Regions from separate parts of the Homo sapiens genome. Here region 2 is linked to region 1. Evidence: promoter capture Hi-C in 16 types of primary human blood cells and fetal thymus (Javierre and others, 2016). All regions are on one chromosome and are shown on one strand. The core of a region is centred on a gene start or on the middle of the fragment in contact, and the rest is flanking DNA. Distances in the headings are between cores, read along the strand shown. Region 1 holds the start of SNED1-AS1 (SNED1 antisense RNA 1). Region 2 holds the start of AGXT (alanine--glyoxylate aminotransferase).

What was found. Contacts are between HindIII fragments. The CHiCAGO score rates a contact against its expected background, and 5 or more counts as called.
Region 2: a contact is called between the fragment with the promoter of AGXT here and the fragment with the promoter of SNED1-AS1 in region 1, in 1 of 17 cell types (M2 macrophages). The highest score is 5.7, in M2 macrophages.

What each region holds. Positions count from the first base shown.
Region 1 is chr2:241,059,866-241,066,894 of GRCh38, reverse strand. SNED1-AS1 (SNED1 antisense RNA 1) reads left to right here and starts at 2,777. Exons shown (of 3, transcript NR_187212.1): 1 at 2,777-2,815. SNED1 (sushi, nidogen and EGF like domains 1) reads right to left here. Exons shown (of 32, transcript NM_001080437.3): 17 at 3,991-4,104; 18 at 3,195-3,308; 19 at 2,770-2,883; 20 at 1,938-2,051; 21 at 1,300-1,596. It also overlaps a transcript of MTERF4 not described here. RefSeq lists a silencer at 2,669-2,828. The HindIII fragment of the contact is 14,458 bases long and covers 1-7,029 here.
Region 2 is chr2:240,863,253-240,870,281 of GRCh38, reverse strand. AGXT (alanine--glyoxylate aminotransferase) reads right to left here and starts at 1,458. Exons shown (of 11, transcript NM_000030.3): 1 at 1,252-1,458; 2 at 920-1,112. The coding sequence starts at 1,416. RefSeq lists an enhancer at 1,439-1,939. The HindIII fragment of the contact is 16,005 bases long and covers 1-3,822 here.

The sequences.
Region 1 (7,029 bases), core at 1,528-4,027:
TCCTGCAGGACAGGCCCTTGTGGGCCTCTGGGTGGGCTCAAGCTGCCTTGAATGCCTTCTCCTGTCCCTCAATGCCCTTGGCATTGGCATCAAGCTAGGGCCCAGGTGTGGCCAGGAGGCTTTCCTCCTGTGAGAACCGCCGAGCTCCTCCCCACCTACCCGCCATGCTACCCATAGGTTTCACCAAACTCACGTGGCCGCCCCGCAGGGCCCTGCTGGATGCTTAGGCCTCCCTGAAGCCCTGGCCACCCACCCACCCATCCATCCATCACGCCACTTCGCAGCAGTCTGTGCTCTCAGCACCTTTTCCTCTTTCCTCGAGCCTCTAGCACCCCTTCCCCATTCTTGCTCCTGTGTCTGGAGGCCACAGGCATGTTGGGTGAGAGTCCCATGGCCCCATGGCCCTGCACCCCACTTGGTTCCTGCCCAGCCTGTTCCGAGATCCCCTGTGCTCTAGCTGATGCGGCCGGGCTCCGTGGAAGGCCAGCCCTCTGCTTTCTTCCGGCCCTGCCCCTGTCCGTCCACTGCCATGTTCTAGGGCTCCTTTCTCCTTCCCAGAATCCCTCCCAGCAGCACACAAGCCCGCTAAGCCCTGACGCCTTCCCTAGAGCGCTCAGCATCTTCTGCTCCCCGACACGGCAACAACCCCACAGGCTGTGCACAACCCGGGCCTCCCCTGCAATCTTGGTGGCTCAGGCTCTGAGGAGGCTCCTCCTAGGACCCCCTCTTCAGGGGTCACATCTGGTCACAGCTTTCAGTGCCAGCTCCAGGTGGAGGCTCTGGGTCTGTCATTCCATCTAGGGCCTGCCCCACGGCTCTTCCCGATTGAGCCACCGATGCCTCCCCTTAGCACACCTCAGCGCCTACATATCCCTGTGAGCAGGTGCCTCTTTCAAACTCTCCCCAGGCCTTCAGAGCACCCCAGAGTCCCAGCCCCCCCAAGCCCACCCCCGCGGCCCCTGTCTCCCACACTGGCTCCTTCTAGGGACCCTTTTGGGAAGCCCCCATTCCTCCCCAGTCCCACTTCCTAGCTCCATGCCTGGGGGTTGTGCTGCTCCCACTCTTGGCTCGATTCTATGCGCCCCAATCCCATGCCTGTATCTTGTGGACCCAAGGCCACTCCCACACAGCTCTGTCTCCAGCAGGGCGGTGCCTCCAACCCCCAGCTCAGCTGTCTGTCTTGCTGCTGCAAGAACTAGGAGGGTGGACGGCATGACAGCCGCCCTGCAGGTGCCGGGGCCAGCGCTGCCCTCGAGGGGCAGGGGCTGGGCAGGGACGGCCAGGCTCGGGGACACTCACGCGTGCGGGCCAGCAGCACGGCAGGCCTGCTGATGTCATTCTTGTTGTTACTGTTTCGCTTCACTGAGAAGACGGAGATGTTGTAGGCCCTGCCGGCCGCCAGGGCCTGGAGCTGGTGCGAGGAGCGGGTCCTGTCCACAAAGTCTGTGCGGCGGTAGGAGCCGTCGGAGGAGACGTAGGTGACCGCGTAGCCATCAAGCATCTGCCTGGCGGCTGGACCATTGGGCGGGTTCCAGGAGATAGAGACCCCACTCTCCTCCACTCTCTCCATCTTGAGGGCCGTCGGTGGGAAGAGCTCTTCAGGGTTTGGGTCAAAACAAGGGGAGGGGACTGGTCAGCCGTTAGCTATGCATGCCTGGCTCCCGTCGGCGGCTCAGCCGGGTCTGGCTCTTGGGCCTGACACAGCCATCGCTGGCAGAGTCCTTCTTTGTCCCTGGCCACGTACCTCCAGGAGGGTCACACTTTTGAATGTGTGACCGTGTTTCAAGCCCACCGGGGGATTTTATCCCCTCCCTGTTCCTCAGGGAAGGGGCCTGGGCAAGCAGCGGCCAGACGCTCTGCCCTTGGAGACCGTTGGGCCCTCTAGGGAGAGGGGACCCCCTCGTGGCTCCCTCACTGGAGGCGCCCTCGCCACCCACCTTTGGCGCAGTCCTCGCCCGTGTAGCCCACTTTGCAGGTGCAGCTGTGGGAGCCGTTGCTGGCCAGGCAATAGCCACGGCCCCCACAGGGGCTGGAGAAGCAGGGGTCACTCACTGAGGGGAGAAAAAGTGGCAGTGTATGTTGGGGCGTGGCCAGGGGTCCCTGCTCCAGCCCCGCCCTTGCTCCTGGGGCACTGGGTCCCTCCTGCGTGGGTGTGGAGGGGCGGGGGGCACAGGACAGCTACTGCCTCCCTTCGGTTCTGCCACCTCCACTGCCCTGCGGGGCCCAACCCAGCAGCTCCTCCACCCTCCACAGCGGAGTGCCACCAGCCGGACTGGCTGAGGGGAGGAGACACTGGATCAGGACAGGACAGGCCACCACCCCAGTGACAGTCCTGCTTGAGGAGGGGAGGTCAGTGGTCAGGGAAGCCTCATCAGGAGGTATCCCACTGGGGGCTGATTAGGGAGAATGTTCCAGATGGAAGGACAGCCAGGGGCCAGACCTGGGTGTGCAAGAAACTTGGCCTGTCCAAGGGCAGCAGGGCCTATGTGTGGACGTGAGGCCCCACCCCTGGGTGTGTCCTCGGGTGAAGAGGGGTGTCTGGGGGGTGAGCGCAGGAGATGGGGAGGTTTAGAAGGCACCATTGTGGGACCAAGGGAGACAGGCGGAGGGCCACTGGCCTGAGAAGGGGACTTCCAAGGCGGCGGGCAGAGGGCGGGGAGCAGGCGGGCAGAGGGCGGGGAGCAGGCGGGCAGAGGGCGGGCAGCAGGCGGGCAGAGGGCGGGGAGCAGGCGGGCAGAGGGCGGGGAGCAGGCAGGCCTGCCGCCCTACCTGTCTCGCAGTGGTAGCCGAAGAAGCTCTCTGGGCAGACGCACAGGTAGGCCCCGCCGCCGCTCTCACACCGGCCTCCATGCTGGCAGGGGCTGGAGTCGCAGGCGTCCACCTCTGGAGAACACCCAGAGAGTGGGCCCAAGCTGCAAGGGGGGAGTCTGGGGGAGGGAGGAGAGGACAGCGGGAAGAAGGGAAAGGAGGAGTCTAGGGGCGGAGGCCAGGAGAGAGGGGCAGTGGGCAGGTCCCGCCCCTCAGCCCTCCCCAGCACCCTCACCTCCACCCCTCCCTCCCAAGGTGGCCGCAGCCCTGGGGGTCCCTCTCCCCAGGTGGCCTGCCCAGCAGGGAATGTGGGGATGCCCCACCTCCTCTCTGATCTTCCAGAGGCCCAGGCTCTGCATGTGGGGCCCACTGGAGGGAGCCCCTACCTGTCTCACAGTGGACTCCAACGAAGCCTGCAGGGCACCGGCAGACATAGGCCCCTGGGAGGTTCCTGCAGGACCCTCCATTTCTGCACGGGTGAGCTCGGCACTCATCCCTCTCTGCACAGAGAAGGGGTGTCAAGGGTGTTGCTGGCTCAAGTCTGAGGCGCCCACATGCCCCCAGGATTCCGTGCATTTCCTGGGGCTTCAGTTACCCCTTTCCCAGCTGGGAGCAACTACTCAGGACATGTGCTTTTTCTTCCATCAGCCCCAAACCCACCCCTCCTCGGGAGGCGTGCCACCTCCACTGCCTGCTGGCAAAGCCCCACCTCCAGGCCATGCCTTCCTCCAGGCCACTCCGCAATGGGAGGCTCCCCAGGGCCACGACTGGGCACGGCTCCCTGGGCCTTGCCCTCCCTGGAGCCTGCGTTTCTCAGGCTTAGAGCCCTAGCGAGGTACAAGAGTGTGCAGGGCTCATGGGGCAGGCCTCCCCTCCCTCCACTGGCTGGAAGCACCGACCAGGTGTCAGAGACTGTGACCTGCCCTCTCCGACGCCCACCTTCTCTGCGCCCTGAAGCCAGGCCAGCATTTCTCAGCTGGGCTCTCAGTCTCCCCTGGGGAGGTGCAGGAAGGGATATTTGTAAAATCTTTGTCTTGGATGTCAGAGCTGGCAGGGGCCCGAGAAAGCATGCAGTGGCCACCCTGGCCATCCAGACAGAGACCTGTCCGGGGGACCCAGTGCCTCAGGCACATGGCCAGTGTGCTGCAGCTGTCACCCCAGCGGGGCCAGGGCCCCTCTTACCCAGCTCACAGTGGGCGCCCTCATAGCCTGTGCTGCAGAGGCACAGGTACCCAGCAACGCGGTCCTGACAAGAGCCCCCATGCAGGCACGGCTGAGACCGGCACTCATCGATTTCTGAGAGGAGAGAGCCCAAGAATAAAGCAATGTGGCCACGATTAAGCCAAATTAAGATGCACATAAACTAGTCCTGAGGGGCCAGACAGAATTCGATGATACATCATCAGTGGTTGGAAAGGCCAGAGACCAGGGCTGGATATCCTTGGAGTCGGGGCAGGGCAGTGGGCCTGGGGCTCAGTGCCTGGCTGTGTCTGTGAAGCAGCAGGGCGGGCTTGAAACCACCCCAGGGCTCCCAGAAGACGCTGTGGGACTTAATTCCAGTGGTTCAGGCCGACAGGACAAAGGCCTCAGGGGTTTGACAGAAAATGTCTCATGTCCCATCTTGCCATTTCAATGTATAATAGTCACCTGTGAAACCAGTCCATCTGGGACAAATCTTGGTTTTAAATGATTCACCACAGCTTTCTTTTCAAGCGGGAGTTGTGCTCCTGAATTTAAATATTTATTTTTTTAAAGTTTAATTTCATGCTTAAAAAGTAAATAAATGGTAATGACTTAGTGACATCTGGGACTAGCAGCCACCCCGGCAGCCAGAATGCTGAATGGGCTCATCCGACCGTGTACCCTTCTCTTCCCTTGCGATAAGAATCTCTGGGTTTATAATTTCCTTGTCTTTAAAAACTAGGTTTTCTGGCAGTAAAATATGTAATTAAAATTAGCTTAAAAATTTTATAAATTGCCTAAACAATAGTGAATGTTTTTGTTGTTTATGAACTTTATTCATAGTACATCATGATATATATTGTCTTCTCTCAGCATTATATGAAGAAGAGAACTCCACACTGTAGGTCACTGTGGTTCATAGATTTTCACTGCTGAATAACATTACACAGTGTGGTTATATCATACTTCACCCATTCTCACTGGCTGGGTCTTTGGGTTGGTTCTAGACTTTTTCCTTTTTTTGTTTTCTTTTTTTCTTTTTTTTTTTTTGGGGGGATGGAGTTTCGCTCGTTGCCCAGGCTGGAGTGCAGTGGCATGATCTTGGCTCACCACAACCTCCGCCTCCCGAGTAGCTGGGACTAAAGGCGCCCACCACCATGCCCGACTAATTTTTGTATTTTTAGTAGAGATGGGGTTTCACTATGTTGGCCAGGCTGGTCTCGAACTCCTGACTTCGTGATCCGCCTGCCTCAGCCTCCCAAAGTGCTGGGATTACAGGCATGAGTCTACGCCCAGCCTAGACTTTTTGCTTTTACAAAAAATGTTGCTGTGTATATTCTTTCCCATCTCCTGGTGCAGACGTGAAGTTTTTCTTAGGTTTATACCCAGAAGTGCAATTGCTGGAACACAGTTGACGTAAATGAGCAACAGTGGGCAGATTGCTCAACAGGCAGAGTGCCACATTGTTTTCAAAGTGCTTCTAGCAATTTATACTCTTGCCAGCAATGCATAAGAAATCTTGTTGATCCACATTCTCACCGGTATAGGCTTTTCAGACTTCTGAAAATTTACCAGCTGAATGTACCTCATTGCACTTTTGATTTGCATTTCCCTGATTACTAATGAAATAGAATATTTCTTTTTATGTTTGTTGGCCTTTTGTATCTCTTCTTCCATGAAATGCCTATGCATGTTTTTTTTTCTATTTTCCTATTAGGTTGTTTTCTCATTGATTTATCAGAGTTCTTCATGTAGTCTTGAGACTATTTATCTCTTCTCCCAGTTTGTAGTTTAGATTTCACTTTCTTAAGGTTTATGGATTTAGGTTCTAATTTTCATATGGTCAAGTATGTTCATCATTTCTTTTTAAATTCTTTTTGTGGCTTAAGGAGTCTTTCACTACCCCAAAGTCAAAAATATATTTACCTATATTTTCCACACAAAATTATATAGTTTTTTTTGGTTGTTTTTTTTTGAGACAGGGTCTCACCCTGTCCCCCAAGCTGGAATGCAGCGGTGCAATCACAGTTCACTGCAGCTTTGAACTCCGGTTTCAAGTGATCTTCCCACCCTAGCCTCCTGAGTAGCTGGGACTACAGGTGCATGCCACTACGCCTGGTTAATTTTAGTTTATTTTTGTAGAGTTGGGGGTCTCTCTATGCTGCACAGGCTGGGCTCAAACAAAACTCCTGTCTTGGCCTCCCAAAGTGCTGGGATTATAGGCATGAGCCATGTGCCCGGCCCTGTATAGTTTTTTTTTAAAGAAACATTTAGGTCTTTAATCCACCTGGATTTAATTCCAGTGTATGAAAAATAGAGAACCAATATAATATTTTTCCAAGTACAAAACCATTGTATTCCAGCTCTCATGAATATTTTCTCATATGCTTTTGTATTTCTTTCTTTTAGAAGTTTATAGTTAGGGACGGGCATGGTGGCTCGCGCCTGTAATCCAGCACTTTGGGAGCCCAAGGCGGGTGGATCACCAGAGGTCAGGAGTTCAAGACCAGCCTGGCCAACATGGTGAAACCCCGTCTCTATTAGGAATACAAAAATTAGCTGGGTATGGTGGTGAGTGCCTGTAATCCCAGCTACTTGGGAGACTGAGGCAGGAGAATCGCTTGAACCAGGGAGGCGGAGGTTGCAGTGAGCCGAGATTGTGCCACTGCACTCCAGCCTGGGCAAGAGTGAGATTCTGTCTCAAAAAAAAAAAAAAAGTTTATAGTTTTAGCTTTTACATTTATGTTTATAGTTCCTTTTACGCATTTAAAAATTTATCATGTTTTTGATGCTATTAATGTAACACTTTCATTTCAAAGTGTTCACTGCTACAACAGGTTCTATATACTGACCCTGTATCCTGGGATCTAGTTGAATTCACTTGTTAGTTCTATAGCTTCTTTTGTAGAATTTCCTTAGGATTTTCTATGCATACAATCATGTGATCTCTAATTCTTTCTTCCTTTCCTTCCTTTTATTTCCTTTTCTTGTCATCTGGCACTGTCTAGGGCCTCCAGGAAAATGCTGGGAATACGTACT
Region 2 (7,029 bases), core at 209-2,708, 200 kb after region 1:
AGGGCTGGCACACCACAGGTGTGATGGATGACAGACTGAAGGATGAGGGGTGAGTGAGGCAGCAGCCTTGACCTCTGTTGGAGCTGGGGACTCCAGGAATCAGGCCCTCACCCCCTCCCTGTCTCTGCCCTATCCTGTGTGCTGTTCAGGGCCAGGTTGTGGGAGGGGAAGAACCTGCGGCCAAGGGGACAGAATGGGGAAAAGGGAAGCCATATACCACAGGCATCTGAGCCTGCGTGCCCTGATGTCCACTTGGGGTCCTGGCCTCTGCCGACCCTGGGTCCCCTTGAAAAGTTTGTGGACTTGGGGTTGGGACCCTCTTGGCTGTTGCGGTCGCGTATTAACCAGCATGGCCATTGTGGAGCTCACCAAGCTGATGTCCCTCAATGCCACAATCAATCATTAAACCCAGGGCACACTCCTGCTCCTGTGTCTCTCCCAGAAAAGTGTACTCCGGAGGCGAATACTCTGCCCATACCTCCATATTTTGTGTATCACATCAAGATTCCAGAAGGAAGGCTGCTGAGATTTGAGGGGAGGCTTCAGCTTCTGAAACCCCACCCTGTCACAAAGCAGAGCTGGTGCCTGGGGCCCTGGACAGCGGCCGGGGCTCTCAGGAGTGTGTGCTGGGACCAGAGGCTTCCCTGTAGTTCCGTCCTGCACATGCTCCAGAAACAGCTCAAGGAGACTGGGGGGATCGGGGCACCTGTGCTGCTCCCAGCCCTATCAGAGTCAGGCCTCATGAGTGCCCGACACCGCCTGGAGGAGGCAGTGGGCTGGCAGGAGGTTCGTGCGCACAGGGCCACAAGGTGGGTAAGCGCTCACCCAGGAACGGGGGCTGCCAGCTTCAAACAGAGGGAGGCCAGGGAGGCCTTGAAGGATGGATCCAGGGCCATCCCCACCTGGGCCTCTCCCTTACCTATGCGCTCCCCGATGTCCACGGCTCGCTGCCCCCAAATGCCATTGGCCCCAACCAGGAAGGAGTCCCCAGGCTCCAGCACATTGACCAGGGCGGCCTCCAGGGCACAGTGTCCCGAGCCAGAGATGACCAGTGTGAGTGGGTTCCTGGTCTGGAACACGTACTGGATGCCTTCCTTGATCTCGTCCATGATCTGCATGCGGGTGGTATAGGGTGAGACCCAGGCTCCCCGCCTCCCCAAGTGAGGAGGCAGTGACCCCCTTCCCTCGTCCACGATCTGTGGGTGGGAACATGGGTGAGACCCAGGCCCCCCGAGTGACCCCCACTCCTACCTGGTACATATCCTTGCTCATGGACCCGATCATCTGCAGCCCCCCGGCTGCCATGATGCGAGGAGGCAGGTTGGAAGGACCAGGCCCCAGCAGGAGCTGGTTGGGGATGGAGAGGGGCTTGAGCAGGGCCTTGGGGGGGGTCACCAGCAGCTTGTGAGAGGCCATGGTCCGCACCCAACCTGCCGCTCGGGAACCTGGGGCTGCACTGGCCTTGGCCAAAGCCTGGAATATTTCCCAGCAGGGCGGACACAGAGGTGAGAGGTGAGGATTGGTGGATGGGCTTCCGTGGCAGCCCTGCCTTTTGTTCCCTGAGGCTTATCTGTGCTTGTGCTGCGGGTCACGGCCAGGCAGCAGGGGACGAAGCCCTCAGGCAGAGGGAGCCCCCAGGGCTGAGTGACAGAAAAACAGAGTGTGACAAAGCTGTCCTCACCCCAGCCCTCCTCGCTCCCACTCTGAGTCCTGCACGTCCAGCCCCTCTTATTCTGCTTAGCTCAGGGGTGAGAGAAGTGTTTCTTAAAGGGTCGGAGCACAGATAATTGAGGCTTGGCAGGCCCTGTGGTCTATGTTGCAACAACTCAACCCTGCTGCGTGCTTGCAAAGCAGCTGCCAGAGGTGTGGGCGTGTTCCTATAAAACTTTATTTACAAAAAGCAGGTGGCAGGCCAGATTGGGCCCATGGACTGTGGTTTGCTGACCCTGGCGCAGCTGATGGGAAGGCTTGTAAACCAAAAATAAAATTCGAAGGCCCCCCAGCAACCATCTGAATGGGGTTCCCTGTCCGCCAGGGTGCTCTAAACTTTAACCCGGAAGACGTTCAGGCCATGCCACATCATAACCCCCAGCATTAACATCGACATAGACCTTAAGTCTGATAGGAAGCATTTACCATCTATTTTCTCTCTAAATCCCGCTACCTGAAGGCATCATCTGCTCCCTGCAACCCCTATTTCATAACCCAGACACTCCTTTCTGCTGATAATAATTCTTCAGTCAGTTGCCAATCAAAATATGTTTAAATCTACCTATGACCTGGAAGCCCCCCAATTCAAGTTGTCCCGCCCTTCCAGATGGAACCAATGTAAATCTCCCATGTATTGATTGATGCCTCATATCTCCCTAAAATGTATAAAAGCAAGCTGTGCCCCGACCACCTTGGGCCCTTGTGGTCAGGGGTGCACCCTTGAGCTTGGCAAGGATGTCCTCCCTCCTGAGGCTGTACCACGGGTGCATCCTTAGCCTTGGCAACAAAAACTTTCTAAATTAATTGAGACCTGTTTGAGGTACTTTTTGGTTTACAGGCTCAATTTAGCAAGCAAACCTGCATGGTATACAGACACACACAAGGCAGGGGTTGCACAGTGAGTTTCAGCATGCTGCATTCCAGAGATGTATAGAAATTCTAGTTATGTATAAGTTTTAGGTTGAAAAGAGGCCTGGAACCAGGTGCCAACTTTAGATAATAGGGAAGTCTAATTCATTCTACATTTCTCAAATAAAGAGGCTCCCCTCCACCCACCCCACCTGGGGCCTGCTTGATGGTCTCCAGGTGATCTTTGCTGTCCTCATTTTCCCTCTGACAAATATCTTGGTGAAATCTTTGACCCTTCCTTTTCTGCCATGCTCATGTCCACCTGCTTCCTGTTGGGGTCTCAAGAAAGGGGAAACGGCACAGTGAAGAGGGGTGTCCAGTGCGCCTGACTACTTGCTGCTGAAAGGGAGTTCAGGGGGGTAGGTCACGTTTTTCCCTTTCTTGCTCTCGGTCATGAAGGGAATAAAGGGTCATGAAAACTTGTGCACGGAGGCACGTGATGGGATTCCATCAAGAAGCCCCACGTAAATGGGAGCTGCAGTTGCAGGCCGGTATTTCCATCAAGAAGCCCCATGTAAATCGAGCTGCAGTTGCAGGCCAGTGTTGGGAATGCATAGCCTTCTGCAGGTGGAATTGTTCTCATGTAGAACATAGAAAAGCAATCAGAGCATTAAAAAGGCAGGGACCAAATATTAAAAGAAAAATGACAGAAGATAAAGGTCTAAGGAATGGGGGAAGCCAAGTGATTTTTTGAAAACCAATCAGTAAAAGTTTTGGCCCAGTCTTGGTTGCTTTGGGAAAGTGTGTGTAGCCATTTGGCTTGTTTGATGATTTCTTGGGCATCGGTTTCCACTTCTCCAGACACATAAATGTAGGTGCAACGGGTCCTGTTGATGACAGCACAGACCCCTCCTTGTTCAGCTAGGAGGTAATCCAGAACTCACCTGTTACCAGACACCAAAATCCTGCTTGTGAGTCTAATGACTTGTAGAGCTGATAGATGGGTGCCAGCTTTTGCTATTTCAAGGGAGGCGGTAGGTTCTCTTACTTGTGATTTCCTGGTAAGTAAAACCTCCCCAAGGGGTAAGAGTTGTGATAGTTCCCACAACTCCGGCCACAGTAAGTCCCAGGGCCCTTTTCCTTCTAGAAGGGAATTCTGAATTAGAAGTGATGTTTAAGACAGTGATTTGGGTGGGAGCTATTGTTCCCAGGCTACAATCACCATAGTGAAGAGAATGATCAAGGTGGGATAGGGCCAAAGCTTGAAAAGGGTTTAAATAGTTTTTAGTGGGGCTGCTAAGCCATAAGAGCCCAGGAGGGGCAGGATGATTATTTTAATTAAAATGTTGGGAAAAAAGGAAATGGGCCTTTTGACAGTTTTAAGAGGACTCATATGGGGGAAAGACTATGTTTATGTACTGATGGAGGAGGTTTAAAAGCAGGCGGGTGCCAGTGCATGGCATAGGATGTAAACCAGGTGGCACGGTGGTTATTTCCTGCACTGGTTGCATCATTATAGTAACATACATGAAGGTATTAGGAGTGCAGGGGTGCTGTATACTGGGAGCCCCACTATACTGGTCCAGTTTAACGGCTTATAAATTGGCAGTGATGAGATAGAGTCAGATTTTTTTTTTTTTTTTTTTTGAGATGGAGTCTCACTCAGTTGCCCAGGCTGGAGTGAAGTGGTGTGACCTTGGCTCACTGCAACCTCTGCTCCTGGGTTCAAGCGATTCTCCTGCCTCAGCCTCCTGAGTAGCTGGGATTACAGGCACCTGCCACCACGCCCTGCTAATTTTTGTATTTTTAGTAGAGACAGGGTTTCACCATGTTGGTCAGACTGGTCTCGAACTCCTGACCTCAGGTGATCCACCCACCTCTACCTCCCAAAGTGTTAGGATTACAGGTGTGAGCCAGCGCACCTGGCCAGAGTCAGAGTTTTGATTGTAGGAGGCGAAGGCCTCAAATGAGTCAAAGTTAGCTGCATGAGTGTCATTATAACAAGGTGTACCTCCCAAAATAACATTACAAGTTAAGGAAGTTTCAGTGATATTGTAAGTGTGGATGGTGGGGGAAGTAATATGATAGCACGAAGAGGGAGGTGGTTTCCAATTTACCAGCACAGAAGGAAATGGTCGGGGTGGGAAGGAGTGGTGAGAAGAATAATGAAATCCCAACAGTACAGTTTGATTGGAGACAGGGTGTGCTTACGAAGAAGAATCTACATGGCTTGGAGTAGCAGGTTGTGGACGGCAAAGCCAGCCACACAGAGTATTTTCTCCTCTCACAATAGCATGTGAGATGCTGAAGATGATATTGTCAAACCAAGAGGATTGGGAAGTTTTTATATGAGAGATAAAGAGAAAAACATGAAAGAAAGAAAAAAGGAGTCTCATTGTTCTAATTCAAGGACTGTTACAAAAGTTGCTCCAAGTATAATTAGAAAAACCACCCTGCAAATAAAAATCTAGTGCAAGCTGAATAATTGTATGTGGGTCTTGAGAAATGGGGATTGGATAAAGAGACAGTAAATTGGCTGGGTGTGGTGGCTCATGCCTGTAATTCCAGCACTTTGGGAGGCTGAGACGGGCGGATCACCTGAGGTCAGAAGTGTGAGAACAGCCTGGCCAACATGGTGAAACCCTGTCTCTACTAAAAATACAAAAAAAAAAAAAAAAAAAAAAAAATAGCCGGGCATGGTGGTGCATGCCTGTAATCCCAGCTACTCAGGAGGTTGAGGCGGGAGAATCACTTGAACCCGGGAGATGGCGGTTGCAGTGAGCCGAGATCGCACCATTGCACTATAGCCTGGGTGACAAGAGCAAAACTCTGTCTCAAAAAAAAAAAAAAAAAAAAAGTAAGTGAATTGAGGATAATCTCAGAAAATTGGAGGACCTAAAAACGCTTCTAGAGTACATAAGGAAATGAATGACAAGGGAGGGAAAGGAAAGTGAATGATAAACACAGCAAAAGGCTTACGTGGTATCCTTTGCTTTTGAAGAGAGGTTAGTGTCACCTGGTTGTTTGCAAAACAAAAATCATAGATCTTCCAAGGGCTCAAAGTGTAAGCAGGCTGGAGTTCTGGCGGCAGTACAGACTTTATGTGGCAAAGGTGGACCCAAGGGGAGAATCCCTGCAGTTAACAGCTGTGGGAGAGGCTATGAGGACTTGAAAGGGTCCAGTCCAGAGGGCTGGAAGGGGTTTTCTGTCTGGAGGCAAAGTTTTTAAATATACCCAGTCCCCAGGTTAACAGGAGGTCTTAGTTCTGATGAGGAGGGGTCAGATTTTGGACAAAATTTATCCTGGTATTCAGTAGTGGCCTGGATAGTTTGCCCAGGGAGGCATCACATTGAGACAGATAATGAGCCTCTGGATCAAGTAATAAGTCCGTTTGTAAAAAGGGGCATCCATAAATAATTTCAAAAGGGCTAAGGTGGGTTGAAACCTTTGGGAATTACTCTAGATCTTAACAGGGCAATAGGAAGAAAAGTTATCCAAAACAGTTGAGTTTCTATAGAGAGCTTAGTGAGAAGGGTTTTCAAAGCTAGCTTGGCCCTTGGATGACTGTGGGTGGTAAGCAGCATGTAAGTGATATTTTATTTGGAGGGCCTCACTGATTCCTGGAGTAATAGAAGAAATAAAGGCCAGGCCATTGTCTGATTGGAGGGATTGAGGGACCCCAAATCGAGGAATAATGTGTTCTAAAAGAGCCGTAGTTACTTCTGATGCTCTTTCTGTTCGAGTGGGAAGGCTTTAGTCCAGCTTGTGAAAGTGTCTATAAAGACTAAAAGGTATCTGAATCCCTTATGAGAGGGCATGTGGGCAGAGTCAGCTTGCCAGTACGCCCCTGGGACAGGCCCTCTACGTTGAATAGGTTGGAGGAGGGCAGGGGGTTCATTGCACCCTCAGGATTTGATTGACAGCAAATTGGGCAGGATTGGGAAATGTCCCATAGAGTTGGGGCTAGGCTAGGTTAGGCCCTTGAAAAAGAGGATCTCTTAAGGCTTGTAAAGTTTCCACCCCCAGGTGGTTAGCTTGATGGAGATTTTAGAGGATTTTCCATTGTGGAACCTCAGGGAGGAGAAGTTTATTTTCAGAGTTTTGAAGCCATCCTTCAGGAATGAATGTGAAACCCTGTTTTAGTGCCTTTTGTAAATTTTGTGGGGTGTGCTGGGGTTTTGGTGGGATTGGGTGAGGAAAGAGGGTGGCCAAGCAGTTGATTTAGTTTGTTTATCTGCATAATTATCCCCTCTGGCAGGATTTGAGTTATCTTTTTGATGAGCCGGACAGTGAAGGATTTTGCTATTTCAATCAGGAGATGTATGTCTTCTAGCAAGGTTGAAATTTCAGGGACATGCTGAATGGGGGTGTTATGGGCTGTGAGAGGTGCATGGTTAGTGGCGGTGTTCTGGGCTGTGAGAGATCCTCTTTGCTTCCAGTGGCTTCATGGGCATGCGTTACGTGACACAC